Linked DNA regions of Homo sapiens: region 2 is linked to region 1. The links are contacts of gene promoters, found by promoter capture Hi-C in human tissues and cell types (Jung and others, 2019). All regions are on one chromosome and are shown on one strand. The core of a region is centred on a gene start or on the middle of the fragment in contact, and the rest is flanking DNA. Distances in the headings are between cores, read along the strand shown. Region 1 holds the start of MYO15A (myosin XVA). Region 2 overlaps ALKBH5 (alkB homolog 5, RNA demethylase).

The links. The method cuts DNA at HindIII sites, captures the fragments that hold promoters and counts their contacts. A contact is called where the count stands out against the background at its distance.
Region 2: a fragment that was not itself captured here is called in contact with the fragment with the promoter of MYO15A in region 1 in 5 of the 25 tissues and cell types used here (liver, lymphoblastoid cells, mesendoderm cells and 2 more).

What each region holds. Positions count from the first base shown.
Region 1 is chr17:18,103,252-18,110,066 of GRCh38, forward strand. MYO15A (myosin XVA) reads left to right here and starts at 5,505. Exons shown (of 66, transcript NM_016239.4): 1 at 5,505-5,573. DRG2 (developmentally regulated GTP binding protein 2) reads left to right here. Exons shown (of 13, transcript NM_001388.5): 10 at 550-638; 11 at 1,372-1,430; 12 at 3,182-3,235; 13 at 3,903-4,718. The coding sequence ends at 3,989. LOC105371566 (a long non-coding RNA gene) reads right to left here. Exons shown (of 3, transcript NR_164159.1): 3 at 4,440-5,384. RefSeq lists an enhancer at 3,801-4,448. The HindIII fragment of the contact is 16,274 bases long and covers 2,948-6,815 here.
Region 2 is chr17:18,189,448-18,195,936 of GRCh38, forward strand. It overlaps ALKBH5 (alkB homolog 5, RNA demethylase), which reads left to right. Exons shown (of 4, transcript NM_017758.4): 2 at 5,508-5,588. Among named protein-coding and RNA genes, the nearest start is that of ALKBH5, 8.9 kb to the left of the region's middle. The HindIII fragment of the contact is 6,402 bases long and covers 1-5,160 here.

The DNA of each region.
Region 1 (6,815 bases), core at 4,255-6,754:
ACGGTCCACCCAGTATTTGGAGCAAGGCACATCCCGGGCCTTATCTTTTTAATCCCTCTGCAGTCCTGCGAGGTAGGGACTGGGTTCATGCCTGTTCTACATGTAAAGGCTCTGGTGTCTCCAGAGCCTTGGTTCTCCCCTCTTCTTGCTGAAATCCCTGCTGGACTTCCTGGCAGTCCCTTGCTCCTCTCAAGGAGTGAACTCTGGGTGTCAGGGTTCCTAGCCTTTGCCCATGGTCCCGTCACAGCCCCCGGCCATCTCGCCATGGCAGCCCTTCACTAATCACACATGCTGCAACCCTCCACAGAGCACAGGCTTGCCAGCCCCTAGGAGAGATGCTGACCCTGGTTGAGTGTGACCATGATTGGTGCCCAGAGGCACTGGCAGCAGAAACATCAGGCTGCCATCATAGTAATGGGCTTGTTTCCCTGTGGGTACCAGCGGGCCACCTGGCCAGTGGAGGTTATCCGCTCCAATAGTGAGAAGTGGAGACCCCAGCCTCTGAATTCACAGGGGCCCCTGCCTGACTGGCCGCCTCCCTCTTTGCAGCTGCGGCATGAAGCTGAACCTGGACTATCTGCTGGAGATGCTTTGGGAGTACTTGGCCCTGACCTGCATCTACACCAAGAAGAGAGGACGTGAGTTGCACTGCGCGTAGCTGAAAAACAGGCTGAGCTTCATCCCTAGAAGGCTGCCAGGCCGGTGTGTGGTGCCCAGAGACCCCAGCACCGGCTCTGGCCTGGCTTGTCTAGACACACCTCAGCTCTTTTCCCTTCTCAGCACTGGGCACTGCTGGTTTTGAGGGTACCCTGGTGGGGCAAGGCTACCTTGGGGTCCCCACTGGCTGTAGCAGTCAGTGCCCTCCTGACCTCCCCTCACAGTGACAGGCCCTACCGCAGGAGCATTAGGGACCTGAATCCACAGGAGCCATCCCCATGTCTAACTCCTGCCCATCCTCCTGGTGCGCACACACACATGCCCTGGGGTCCCAACAGCTGAATTCGGAGCAGTTTGCATCAACCCTGACTTTGGCAAGGAGTGAGCTACAGCTTCCCTCACTAGACTCCAGCATCCCTTTGCGCCCTGCCCGTTCAGTCCAGGTCCTGGTCTCTGTCAGTGCTGTCACAGCAGATGGGTGGCAGGCACTGTGAATCCTAGACGTGATTTATTTTGAGTCACTGTGTTAAGATCAAGGTCGTAGAAGATGGTACAGGGATCTATGTGGAGGGTGTGCTGGATGTCAGGGGGAGGTTAGGCCAAGGCAAGGAGACCGAAAGGGCCTCTGTGGCCAGCTCTTCCCTCGCGCAGAATCACAAGATGGCAGTGTGGGCCCTGATGTGTGGCTGACGTTCTCCCCATCCTGCCCTGCAGAGAGGCCAGACTTCACAGACGCCATCATTCTCCGGAAAGGGGCCTCAGTGGAGCACGTGGTGAGTTGACAAGACCTGCCGTGACAAGGGGTGGGAGCTCTGCATGCCCTTTGGGGCTCTGTTCTGCCTGAGGTGCCCTGGGCTGGGGGTGGGCTCTGCTGGTCTCACTCTCAGATGTCAACGCAGGCTCTGGAGTTGGACAGCCTGGGGCTGCGTCTGCAGCACCCCTTCTTAGCCATGTGCCGAGGCTCTGACCTCTACTGTGAGGGGGGTGTGCTGCCTGCCCCCTGGATAGTCAGGAGGACACGTTGAATGAGGTCCAGTGTGTAGGGCACTCAGCATGCTGCCTGGCTTTGCAGAGATGCCAGTAACCCTGCTTCCATGCCATTCAGGCATCAGTCAAGGAGAGTAGGGAGTGGCACCAGCTTAACACAGAGGTCAGGACAGCGGCTTCAAGGAGGCAACCTGAGCCGGCTTATAGGACTAGTGGGTCTGGCAGTGAAGAGTTGGGGTGGGGAGCATCCCAGGTAGGGGAGCAGGCATGCACAGGCCCCAGGGGAGGTGGTCTGGGCTCAGGGAGCAAGAGGCTGCCTTTCCCTGTCCAGGATTCTGTCACCTGAACATGACCCTGCAGGCACAGATGGTGGCCAACCTTCAGGTCACATGGCCGTCCTCCTGGGCTGATGCTTTCCTGGTGTTGTTTTCCTCTAGCTCATTTCTTCTTGGGATCTGTATCCTGGAGGCAAGGGATGCTGTAGACCCAGCTGTCCCTGCAGCCCCTTAGGACAGTGGTGGCAGGGCCTGTAATCTGGTCTCATGCATTCATTCATTCCGCAAGCCCAGCCCCAGGTCTCTGAGTGCCACCCTAGAGGTGTTAAACAAAGGAGGCCAGGCAAAGTCCCATCTCCCTCAGGGCCTAGGCTTGAGATCACAGCAGGAGGAGCCAAGGAGACTCACGATTACCCTCCTGAATCCCTTCAGTCACTCACAAGTGGCAATGCTGGGCAAGCTGAGTAAAACAAAACCCATCTGCAGACCAGAGTCAGCCACCTTCCCATCTGTGTCAAGGAAGTGTTCCTGCAGGCCTGGCGCCGGCCTCCGCCCCAGGGACGCTGGGCTGAGGTGTTGGGTCTCCCACCAGGGCCTGGAAGACCTGTGGGCATGTGGGAGGAGGAGTCACATTGCACAATTGCAGAGTCCCCTCCCCACCGCCCTCCACTGTGCCACCATCAGCGTGGCAACCAGAGGTCTACACTCTCAGGGCAATTGCTGGCTGCCTCCTCCAGGGTCTCCTTCCAGTTTTATATGACATCTGGGACCCCTGGGATCTTCACCCCTACCAAGGAGCACTGAAGTTTATACACTGCCCTGGGAGTTGGGGGTGATGTGATGTGTGGGAAGCTTCAGGCCACAGGTGGGGCCAGGAGGAGTGAGAGATGGTGACCAAGCAGGGGGGACTCCAAGCTATCACCCTGTCCCATTCTAAAGGAGCATCTGTTCAGGCAAGGCAAGCAGAGGGCCACTAGCAGCCAGGCCCCTGACCTTCCCCTGGTGGCTTTGGGAACATTCCTAACTATGCACCACAGCTGGCAGATCAGGAGTGGGAATGGCAGGGCCACCTGCAGCTGTGATTGGGTGGCTATGTGCGAATTGAGCACGTCAGTCCTCCACACAAGGCCCAGACTGTGTGGGCACCTGCCGCGGGAACTCCTGCCTCTTGGCCTGTGTCCTGAGCTTTGGGTGTGCAGCCAAGCTTGGGATGGGGTTAGGTGAAGCCTCACCTCTCTACCTGACTCTCTCCTGTCCTCCAGTGCCACCGCATCCACCGGTCACTCGCCAGCCAGTTCAAGTACGCCCTGGTGTGGGTGAGTCTCTGGGTGGAAAGCAACCAGGGGGGTAGACCCAGGACAGCCCCTGGGTTAGGCATGAAGCAAGGCATTCACACTCTCTGCGTGGTGTTCCTGTCCTTCCTGTGGGGATTGGCATGTCTGTGTGTCTGTCCTCCATAGAATGTACATGCCAACCCAGGGTAGACATGGGCCTTCCCCACCCTTTTTTTTTTCTGGTTTTTTTTTTTTTTTTTTTTTGAGACAGGGTCTGGCTCTGTCTCCCACGCTGGAGTGCAGTGGCACGATCATGGCCCAGTGCAGCCTCGACATCTGTGCAAAAGCGATCCTCCCACCTCAGCATCACAAGTAGCTGGGACTACAGGCACACACCACCATGCCTGGCTAATTTTTCATGGAGACAAGGTTTCGCTATCTGGCCCAGGCTGTCTCAAACACCTGAGCTCAAGTGATCCTCCCACCTTGACCTCCAGAAGTGCTGGGATTACAGGCATTAGCCACTGTGCCTGGCCCTCCCCAACCTTTGAGATCAGGGATGGTCAGACAACTGCGGACATCCTGCTGCCTGAGGCCCCCACCTTATGCCATGGCATTTACCCTTCAGGACACACACGCCCAGGGATATCTTCCTTGACCTTGGCCAGTCCAGGCTGAGGTGACCCCTCTGCCCCCATTCCTCACCCAGGGCACCAGCACCAAGTACAGTCCGCAGCGGGTGGGCCTGACCCACACCATGGAGCATGAGGACGTCATCCAGATCGTGAAGAAGTAACGGCGCCTGCCGGGCCTCCCGCCCACCTGCCTCGTCTCCCTGGGGAGGTGGTCCCACTGGGACACACAAACACCCAAACAGAAAAATACAAATACACGTACCCCAGGAAGGGGTCCCTCAAGTCTCTGCTATTTACAGAAGTTTCTTCAGTAGGCAGACGAAGAGTGTGTTGGGGCAAAGGGGCTCGGTTGGAGGCATTTCCCATAAGACTGAGCCCTCTCATGGGGGTTTTGAGTTTGTAGTGCTGAGCCTGCATCTGTGCCTCCCAGCCCCCTGCACTGAGGGAGCAAGTTGCCCACATGCCCGCCAGCCAGGGCCTAAAGCAGATGGCATGCTCAGTGCCAGGCTGGTAGCTGGGCCTGTTTGGGTCCCTGGAGGCTGTGGCTGCTGTCATGGCACCTCACTCCCTCAGCTCTTGCCAGCTTCTCTGACACTTGGGTTGGGGGCCCTTCCAGGAGGAAACCCCCTTGGGTGCCCCACACAGGGCTCTCCATGATGGGAACCAGTGGTTAGTGGCTTCAAAGGCCCAGCTGACACCCTCCACAGCCTAAGGGGTGTCCTAAAGTGCCTCCCCCTGTATTCCCCCTCCCAGGGCAGCCCCTGCCCAGCACAAAACCCCAGGACCCTGGCTCTGCACGCCTGGGGCAGGGACTTTTGAGTTTAGGATCTGTATTTTCTAAGTCCCCAGTTCTCCTGGCTCTCCTTTCTGAAATAAAGGATTGAAAACGGTTCCTGTTCAGACTGAGAACACTTTGTAAACTTGCTGAACAGTAGCCAGGTTGAGTCAGGTGGGCACAGGTCAGACATTGGGCCTGGGGGTCGGAGAGGGTGCAGCCTGGGCCCCAAGGCAGACCCAGGCCTTGTGTGGCAAGGAGACTGCAGGGTTCCTCACCCAGGCACAGGCAGGCTCTGCCCAGGGGGTTGGTGTTCGGGGGTGTCAGGCCCAGACTGGCCCCTCCGGAGGGGCCTGGCTGCCAAGGTGGGCAGCATCCCAGGAGGCCCTTGTGACCATCTGGGCTGGCAGGGAGGCTCTGTGAGAACAAGGTGGCGGGTCATTTCCTGTTGCCTCAGAAGTCAGGAGTAGAGGGGCTGGCAGGGGCTCGATGAGTGCCTACCGTGTGCCAGGGACTGTGCCAGGCCCCCCACAGTGTTCTGCTGTCCCCCAGAAGCTGGTGTAGGCTGCACAGTTTGTGAGTGCAGACCCCGGATTTAAGACCTCTGAGCAGCGGGGAAGGCTTCCTGGAGGAGGTATGCCTTTTGAGATGGATGCAGCAGGTTCTGTGAGGCTGCCAGGAGGGGTAGAGTTCCCGGGGGCCTCGGGCCCCGCTGGAGTGTGGAGCAGGCCCATGCTCAGCTCTCCAGGCTGTTCGTGGCTCCCCTGTCAGCTGCTCACTCCTTTCCAGAGACAAAACAGGAATAATAGACATCATTAAATATACATAGGGCCCCAGGCGGTCGGCGTGGTGGGCTGGGCCTCCCTTCCCCATAACACTGAGCTGCTCTGCTGGGCCAACCGTGCTCCTGGGCCAGCCAGAGGACCCCCATGAGGCGGCATGCAGGCGGGGAGCAGGCCACAGAACGCAGGTAAGGAGACCTTAGCCTAGAGTCCTTGGGGTCTGTCACTGGCCACCCTCGCATCCCAGGCTGCAGGGGTGATAAGGGAAGGGGCAGCAGCAGAGCTGGGGCCTCGCCCCTAACTCATCTTGAGGCCCTTCTCTGCCTCACTTTGTTCATCTGTGAGGGGTGTGATGCCCATGCAGTCCCCTCCTGGCGATGGTGGGATACCAAGACAGGCAGGGCCTCTGTGGCTTACCTCGGCCCCTCTCCTGACTGTCCTGATGCCTGGCCATGAGGCCCTAAGTGAGGGTTTCTGCCTGGCTGGTGGCCATTCCCACTTCCACTTTACAGGTAGGGGCTCTGGGCCCAGGGTGAGGTAGGGAAGGCCTTGAGTTCACAGGGTGTCAGGGTGAGTCCAGACCTTGGATTAGATCCAGACCTGTTTTGTCCCCAAGGCTGGCTGGCAAAGGGTGGGAAATGAGGCCAGAGGCTGGGGGTCCTCAGGCAGTGAGGGCTCAGGTGAGAGGCTCCAGCCACTGGGCCACAAGTTCCTCACCGTGGATGGGCTTGTTCCTGGGCTAGATCTGTGTGCGCGTGGATCAGGGCAGGCACTGCGGCTCTGTTATGTCCTGGGCTTTCTGGATCTGTGGTCAGGATGGTTGCGCAGTCTACATTTGCTTGTGAGAGAGCGAGCAAGGGATCCTGCAGCTGCGTATGCCCAGGTCAGTGTGAAGTGGCAGCTTGCGGTGCCTTTAGGGCTGGGGAAGCTCCCTAAGACCCCCCAAAGGTCTCTGACCCTCCCATCCCCGCACCTGGGTAAGCTCCAGGCTTGGGCCTCACCCTGTCAGCCACCTTGTTCTCATCACCCTCCCTGATGATCACAGGCAGGGGTCTGCACCCTCACTCAGGCCCATGCCCAGGCAGCAGAGTTGCATTCATCTCCCAGCTGGCATCCCTGCAGCCTCCCGGGGGTAGTATGGCCTGCAGCTTTAGAAGACTCAGGTACATAGGAGCCAAAGACATGAATATTCATCTATCTGTCCCACACGTGTGCGTTCACTCATTCTCCGTCTTTCTTCCTCTCCAGCTTAGATTCCACAGTTTCTCATTTCGGAACCCTCCTTTGGCAAGAAAGCCGAGTCGAGACCCTCTCCTTCCCACTCTGTCCCTCTCCTAGACAGCTCACCTGACCTCCAGCTTCCATCTCGCCAGACCTGGGTCCGAGCAGCCTTTTTGACTCTCCACTGCACTGTCCTGTAGCCATCCCAA
Region 2 (6,489 bases), core at 710-3,209, 83 kb after region 1:
ATACAGTGCTAGCTCTCTGGGGGATATAGGTTCATCTCTGCAAATCTCTTTCATGGGGCTAGTGGGTGTACGTGTGCCCTTTGGTGAGGCCAGCAAGGCCCCCTGGACAGGCTTGCTACCAGGAAACACAGATGGGCTTTTCTTCCTACCGCCTCCACAACAAAATCCAGAAAGTTTGACAGCAGACTTGGTTGGAGTTACAGCACCACCATTTTAACTCGTTGACTTCGGGGAAATTAAGCTTTTTGAGGCCTCAGTTTTCCTCATCTGCAAAACCAGTCTAATGATGCTATAGAGTTGTTATAGAAAGTTGAATCTTTGTCATCTATTGAATGCTTGAAATTTAGCTAAAAGTGTCTCAGGAGATGGGCTACCTTCTGTGTTTAGTACTGTCTATCTTGGTGTGTACAGAATTGGGACTTGGCAGGTTGACCTTCCCTCTGGATTCAGAAAGCCCCAGGACTTCTTATAAAGTTAGGCCATGGGTCGTCTTGGAGGCTTGGGTCTGGTAAATAATTGAGCCTGAGCTCACAATCCTGCCCCTGGGTCCAGGTGGCTGGTCTGCTGCCCCCAAAAGCCTGACCTTCTTGGTCCTGTGGGTCTGTCAGTAAGGCAGGTAGCCATAGCTGGAGAGAGACAGTCACCAGGCTGGGATCTTGGACAGTCCCTCCATCTCTGGTTCATCCTGGCCTAGGCAGGGCATGGAGTAGATGGAAAATGGTGGCCATCTTGGAAATGTGTCATAACAACTCAGTTTCCAAGACCGTCCCCTAGAGGAGAGATGTACAGTCCTGCATAGTTTCTTTAAAGAATTTTTCAGGGCCAGGTGCGGTGGCTCATGCCTGTAATCCCAGCACTTTGGGAGGCCAGGGCGGGTGGATCACCTGAGGTCAGGAATTCAAGACAAGAATGGCCAAGATGGTGAAAGCCCGTCTCTACTAAAAATACAAAAATTAGCCGGGCGTGGTGGCAGGCACCTGTAATCCCAGCTACTCGGGAGGCTGAGGCAGAGAATTGCTTGAACCCAGGAGCTAGAGGTTGCAGTGAGCCAAGATTGCGCCACTGCATTCCAGCCTAGGCAACAGAGTGGGACTCTGTTTCCGAAAAAAAAAAAAAAAAAAAAAATTTCAGACACCTCATTTAATTTGCACCTAATCTTCTGAGGAGGGGCTTGCTGTGATCTTTGTTTTGCAGAGGCAGAAACAGGTTCTAAGTGGTAGAATAGTTCAGCTCAACACACATTTCATTTAGTGTCCACTGTGCAGGGATGAGTAAGGCCTTTGAAGAGCTTTGTCTTGAAGGGAAGACACAATTTCCACAAGGCCAGATGGAATAGCAAAGAGGCATGAGAGGGTGTGGTTGAGCAATGTAGGGGGAACCCAGCCTGGGCAGTCAGGGAAAGGCCCCCAAAAGAGGAGATAGACATGTCAGCTCCTTCGAGAGTCACTCTGAGGTATAGGACTAGTGGGTGACATTTGCAACATATACTGGTCAGTGCCTCTGGGGCTGGGGCTGGGGGCTCAGCCCAGAGAGGGAGCAGGCAAGCCAGATGGCATAAGGTTATTTCCTCTTCTCCTTTCCCTGTGAAAACAAAAAAGCAGGAGGTCCTGGAACTTTTCATGCCAGCAGTAGGGCTGGACCCAAGGGCATATTAAGTTGCAAGCTGGCCGACTGAGACTTTCAGACAATTTATTTTGTAGCAAGTAGGTTCCTTAATAGTAAATAATACCCTGTGGTCTCTGCTCGACATTTTGTGAGATTGGCCAGGAGAGCTTCCCTTAATCAGGACTTTGAGCTCATGTTGCCAGAGCAGCCGGATATTCTGAGGAAAGGGTCAGTGGGCTGTGTCATAGCTGCTAGGAAGTTCTAGAAGACCAGTACTAATAAGCCTTCCAGGTTGGGTCAGTGCCAAAGTCATTTTTGTGGGCCTGTGCAGCCCTACCTCCATACTAGTTCTTCCAAGGCCTGGGCTCCGTGGCAGGAACCTGACATGGCTTATTGTTTGTTCTAGAGCCCTTTGGGGGATGGGGTCAGGGAGCATGCGGGCAGTCAAGCTTTGACAAACATCTGGATTTGCTCCAGAACTGCATTAAGAAAAGTGGTTCCTTGTTGGAGATGGGAAGTCAGGGCCCTTGGTTATGCATATAGCCAAGTCAAACAGATTGATAACACTTGTCAATGGCAGGGAAGGTTGCCTGTAGCCAGCACTGCAGATTCAGGACTTAGAAACGTGCCTCTGGGGCCGAGCATGGTGGCTCACACTTGTAATCCCAGCACTTTGGGAGGCCGAGGTGGGTGGATCACGTGTGATCAGGAGATCGAGACCAGCCTGGCCAACATGGGGAAACAGTCTTCACTAAACATACAAAAATTAGCCTGTAGTCCCAGTTACTTGGGGGTCTGAGGCAGGAGAATTGCTTGAACCTGGGACGTGGAGGTTACAGTGAGCCAAGATCATGCCACTGCACTCCAGCCTGGGCAACAGAGTGAGACTCTGTCTTTAAAAAAAAAAAAAAGTGCCTTTGAGACCTTTGACAGCTCTTTGGGAAAGTATTGTGTGTCTATATGGGACAGTCTTGCAGTCTAGACCCCCATTCCCCCAGTGTGGAATGATAAAAGCATGGGATGAGAACTAGAGTTCCTAGCTCTGGAAATGGGGCCCAGGCGGCCCCCACTACTGGCAGATCCCTGCAGGGGGAGCCCAGACCATGTCTCTTTGGCAGATGCTGAATCCAGGGCTCTGGCTTGCCCCAGGATAGTCCAGGGCCCTCTGACTTTTGTCAGAGTGCTTAGTAAAGATTGTAGGGTGTCAGGCACCCTGCATTATCTGACTTAATTCTCGCAATACCCCTGCAGGTAGGCCTCTCACCACCCCTTTCCAGGAGTGTCAACCAAGTAGTCATATAATGCTGTTTTTCTGCCTGGAAGGGAGGAGGCCCCGTTTTTAAAATCTTGTAATCTTAAAAACTTTAATCTTGTAATCTTTAAAACTGTCCCCATTTTTAAAATCTTGTAATATTAGTAGCAGCAAAAGAATAGCTAAATTATAAAGCATAACAAAATGAATACCCAAGAACCTACTGTTCTCCTTATTACAGATGAAGAAACTGTACAGGTTTTTAGGTTCAGCATGTGATTTAACAAAGGTCACAAAGCTAGTAGGAGACAAAGCTCACATTTGAACCCAGGTCTCTTCAACTCACTAACTCCTGTGTGGTACTTCTCACTGTGGGCTGATGGGTATTAATAGGTATTATGAGAGAAGGTTCTTTGGTAAGTGCTCAAAGTCAGTGGGTTCTTTTGCTGTAGTAATTCTCATGTGCTTTAAATATATTAATGCTTTTTGAAACTCTAATCAGTATTTTACAAATTGATTTCACTGTAGACATTCGTCCACTGTCTTTTTCTTTTTTTTTTTTTTTTTTTTTTTGAGACGGAGTCTCACTCTGTCACCCAGGCTGGAGTGCAGTGGCACTATCTCGGCTCACGGCAACCTCCACCTCCCAGGTTCAGCGATTCTCCTGCCTCAGCCTCTGCGATAGCTGGAATTACAGGCACCTGCCATCATGCCTGGCTTATTTTTGTATTTTTGTAGAGACGGGGTTTCACCATGTCGGCCAGACTGGTTACGAACTCCTAACCTCAGGCAACATGCCCACCTTGGCCTCCCAAAGTGCTGGGTGGGATTACAGGCGTGAGCCACCGTGCCTAGCCTGTCTACTGTCTCTTATGGGACTGGTGTTCATGGAGAAAATTTTGAAAAATTCTTGTCTAGGAGCAGCTTGAGGGAGAAGGTGGATCTATAAAATAAAGGTTTGGGCCGGGCGCGGTGGCTCACACCTGTAATCCCAGCACTTTGGGAGGCCGAGGCTGGCGGATCACGAGGTCAGGAGTTCAAGACCATCCTGACCAACATAGTGAAACCCCATCTCTACTGAAAATAACAAAAATTAGACAGGCGTGGTGGGGTGCGCCTGTAGTCCCAGCTACTTGGGAGGCTGAGGCAGGAGAATCGCTTGAACCCGGTAGGCAGAGGTTGCAGTGAGCCGAGATTGTGCCACTGCACTCCAACCTGGGTGACAGAGTGAGACTGTCTCAAAAAAAAAAAAAATTAAATAAAATAAAGGTTTGTTCTATCCCCAGCATGAGCTCAAATCAGATTTCCAAATCAGAGGTGCTTCCTTAAGGCTGAGCCTGAAGCAGTCTGGCTTTTTATCTCTTGTTGGCTCTTGCATCCAGTTATTAGAGCTGAGGTTTGGCCAGCCTGGCCATCTTGAGGGGTCCTTCCCAGGCCTGCAGTGTTTTTAATAGTTAAGTTTGTGTCTGTACAACTAGCCTTTGAGAAGGGAGCTGATCAGCAGCCATGAGAGAAGGGTTTGTGGTACAGGGCCAGGTAGGGAAACTAAGCCATACTTGTCCTACTAGGCTTGTGGCTGAGTTTCTGGGTGTGTAGAACTGCTGCAGCTCAGTAGAGTAACTTGGAGTGGGAGTATCTTGTGGCTGCCATGCTTCCAGTGATAGCATGTGAGGGGTATAGGAAGCTCAGAGCTTGCTTCCAGAGTTTCAAATTGGAATGACGCTAGCTGAGAAGAGGACAGTCATCTACCCACATTAGTTGGTCTCTGAGCGGTTTTAAAAGTCATGTAACTTGTTGAAAATAAACAGATATCTGAGTATGATGGAAATCCTTTTTTTTTGGGCGGGGGGCAGGGGGTGGGGGTCAGTGGTGGGGACAGAGTCTCGCTCTGTTGCCCAGGTGCAGTGGGCGTGATCTTGGCTCACTGCAACTTCTGCCTCCTAGGTTCAAGCGATTCTCCTGCCTCAGCCTCCCAAGTAGCTGGGATTACAGGCGCCCACCACCATGCCTGGCTAATTTTTGTATTTTTAGTAGAGATGGGGTTTCGCCATGTTGGCCAGGCTGGTCTCGAACTCCTGATTTCAGGTGATCCGCCCACCTCGGCCTCCCAAAGTGCTAGGATTACAGGCATGAGCCATCACGCCCAGCCGGAAATTCTTAAAATATTCAAACACAACTGTCTTCAAAATTTTGGATCCCCCCAAATGGAGACTTCATGTAGATATTCTATTTTGGAATGAGGCAGTCCTAGCTCTCCCTGGTGACTCAGTGCTATCAGTGGCTGCCTTGGCTTTCTCTACCTGCTAAATGGAGGGAGAATGAGGAGGAGCTACAGTGTACTCTCTGGAGTACCCTTTTAAAAAAGGGTTCCTGGCCTGTTCAGGGAGAGTCTTGCTTCCAGCCTCTGCCTTAAGTGGCCAAGGGGTCTCCTTTGTGTCATACCAGGTTTTTCCTTGAGTATTACAGTCTCTTGGCAAAAGCATCCTGGAACTTAATATGATATTCCCTTCCATGTAGATCCTTGAAACTCTCAAGTAATGGGTAGAGAGCAGCCGTAAGACCTAGGCCATGTTCCTGTCCTGTTATATCCCCCAGGAACTTTGGTTGTCTGTCTACTCTTCATGGTCACATGTTCTGTGTTTCTTTTCAGTGGATATGCTGCTGATGAAATCACTCACTGCATACGGCCTCAGGACATCAAGGAGCGCCGAGCAGTCATCATCCTCAGGAAGTAAGTGCCTTGATGTCTGACCTTCTGCCTCACCTGCAGGCCTGTCTGGAGATGTAGCTCTGGGTCCACTTAGAACTCAGCTCCTATGTATCAGTGGCATGGCAGAGTGGAGAGCAGAACTGTTAAGTTCTCTTTTTATTTGAATCCTGTGAGGATAAAGTTGTTTTGTTGTTTTATCAGAAAATTAAGTACTCTATTTAGGGAGTTTAGGACTGAGCAAAAGCATATACGCCCAATATTTGTGGGTATAATCTTGAGACAAGATTTGGGCAACATTCTTCCAAACCTCACCCCACCCCTTAGCCTCTATTCCTCACCTCCTTCGTTCTTATTTGTTACACGTACTCTTGGTGATTATTTTTAGACTGTGCCTTTAGCAGCCTGCTTTAAAAATGCCTGGGTTTTCACTGCTGGAAGGAACAGGGAGTGAAGAGAGGAGACAAGGGTGGGAGGTTAGGATGTAGTATTCGGCAGAATCATGGCTTGTGGCTCTTCTCTGGGGAGGGAATCAGGGATGTGCTACTTAACATCAACAAACCTGGCTTCACCAGCATTTATTTCTTTCACGGGGTGAGTGGAAGAAGCCATAGCCTCACAGACATTGGATCAAGACAAGCCTTGCCCCACTGTCCACCCATCTTGCTCAGGCTGGAATGCAGTGGTGCCATCATAGCTCACTGCATCCTCAAAGTCCTGGACTCAAGCTCTCTTCCTGCTTCAGCCTCCCCAGTAGCTGGGAATAGAGGCAAGTGCCACCATACCTGGTTCACGCCTACCTTTTGAATAGAGTCCCAGAGAAGATAGGTGATTGCCCAGAGTCATAGAAGTCAGTGAGCAGAGCAAAACAAGCACGTAAACTTAGGCTTGACCCATAAAACTTGCTGTCTGTCGTCTTCTTCCT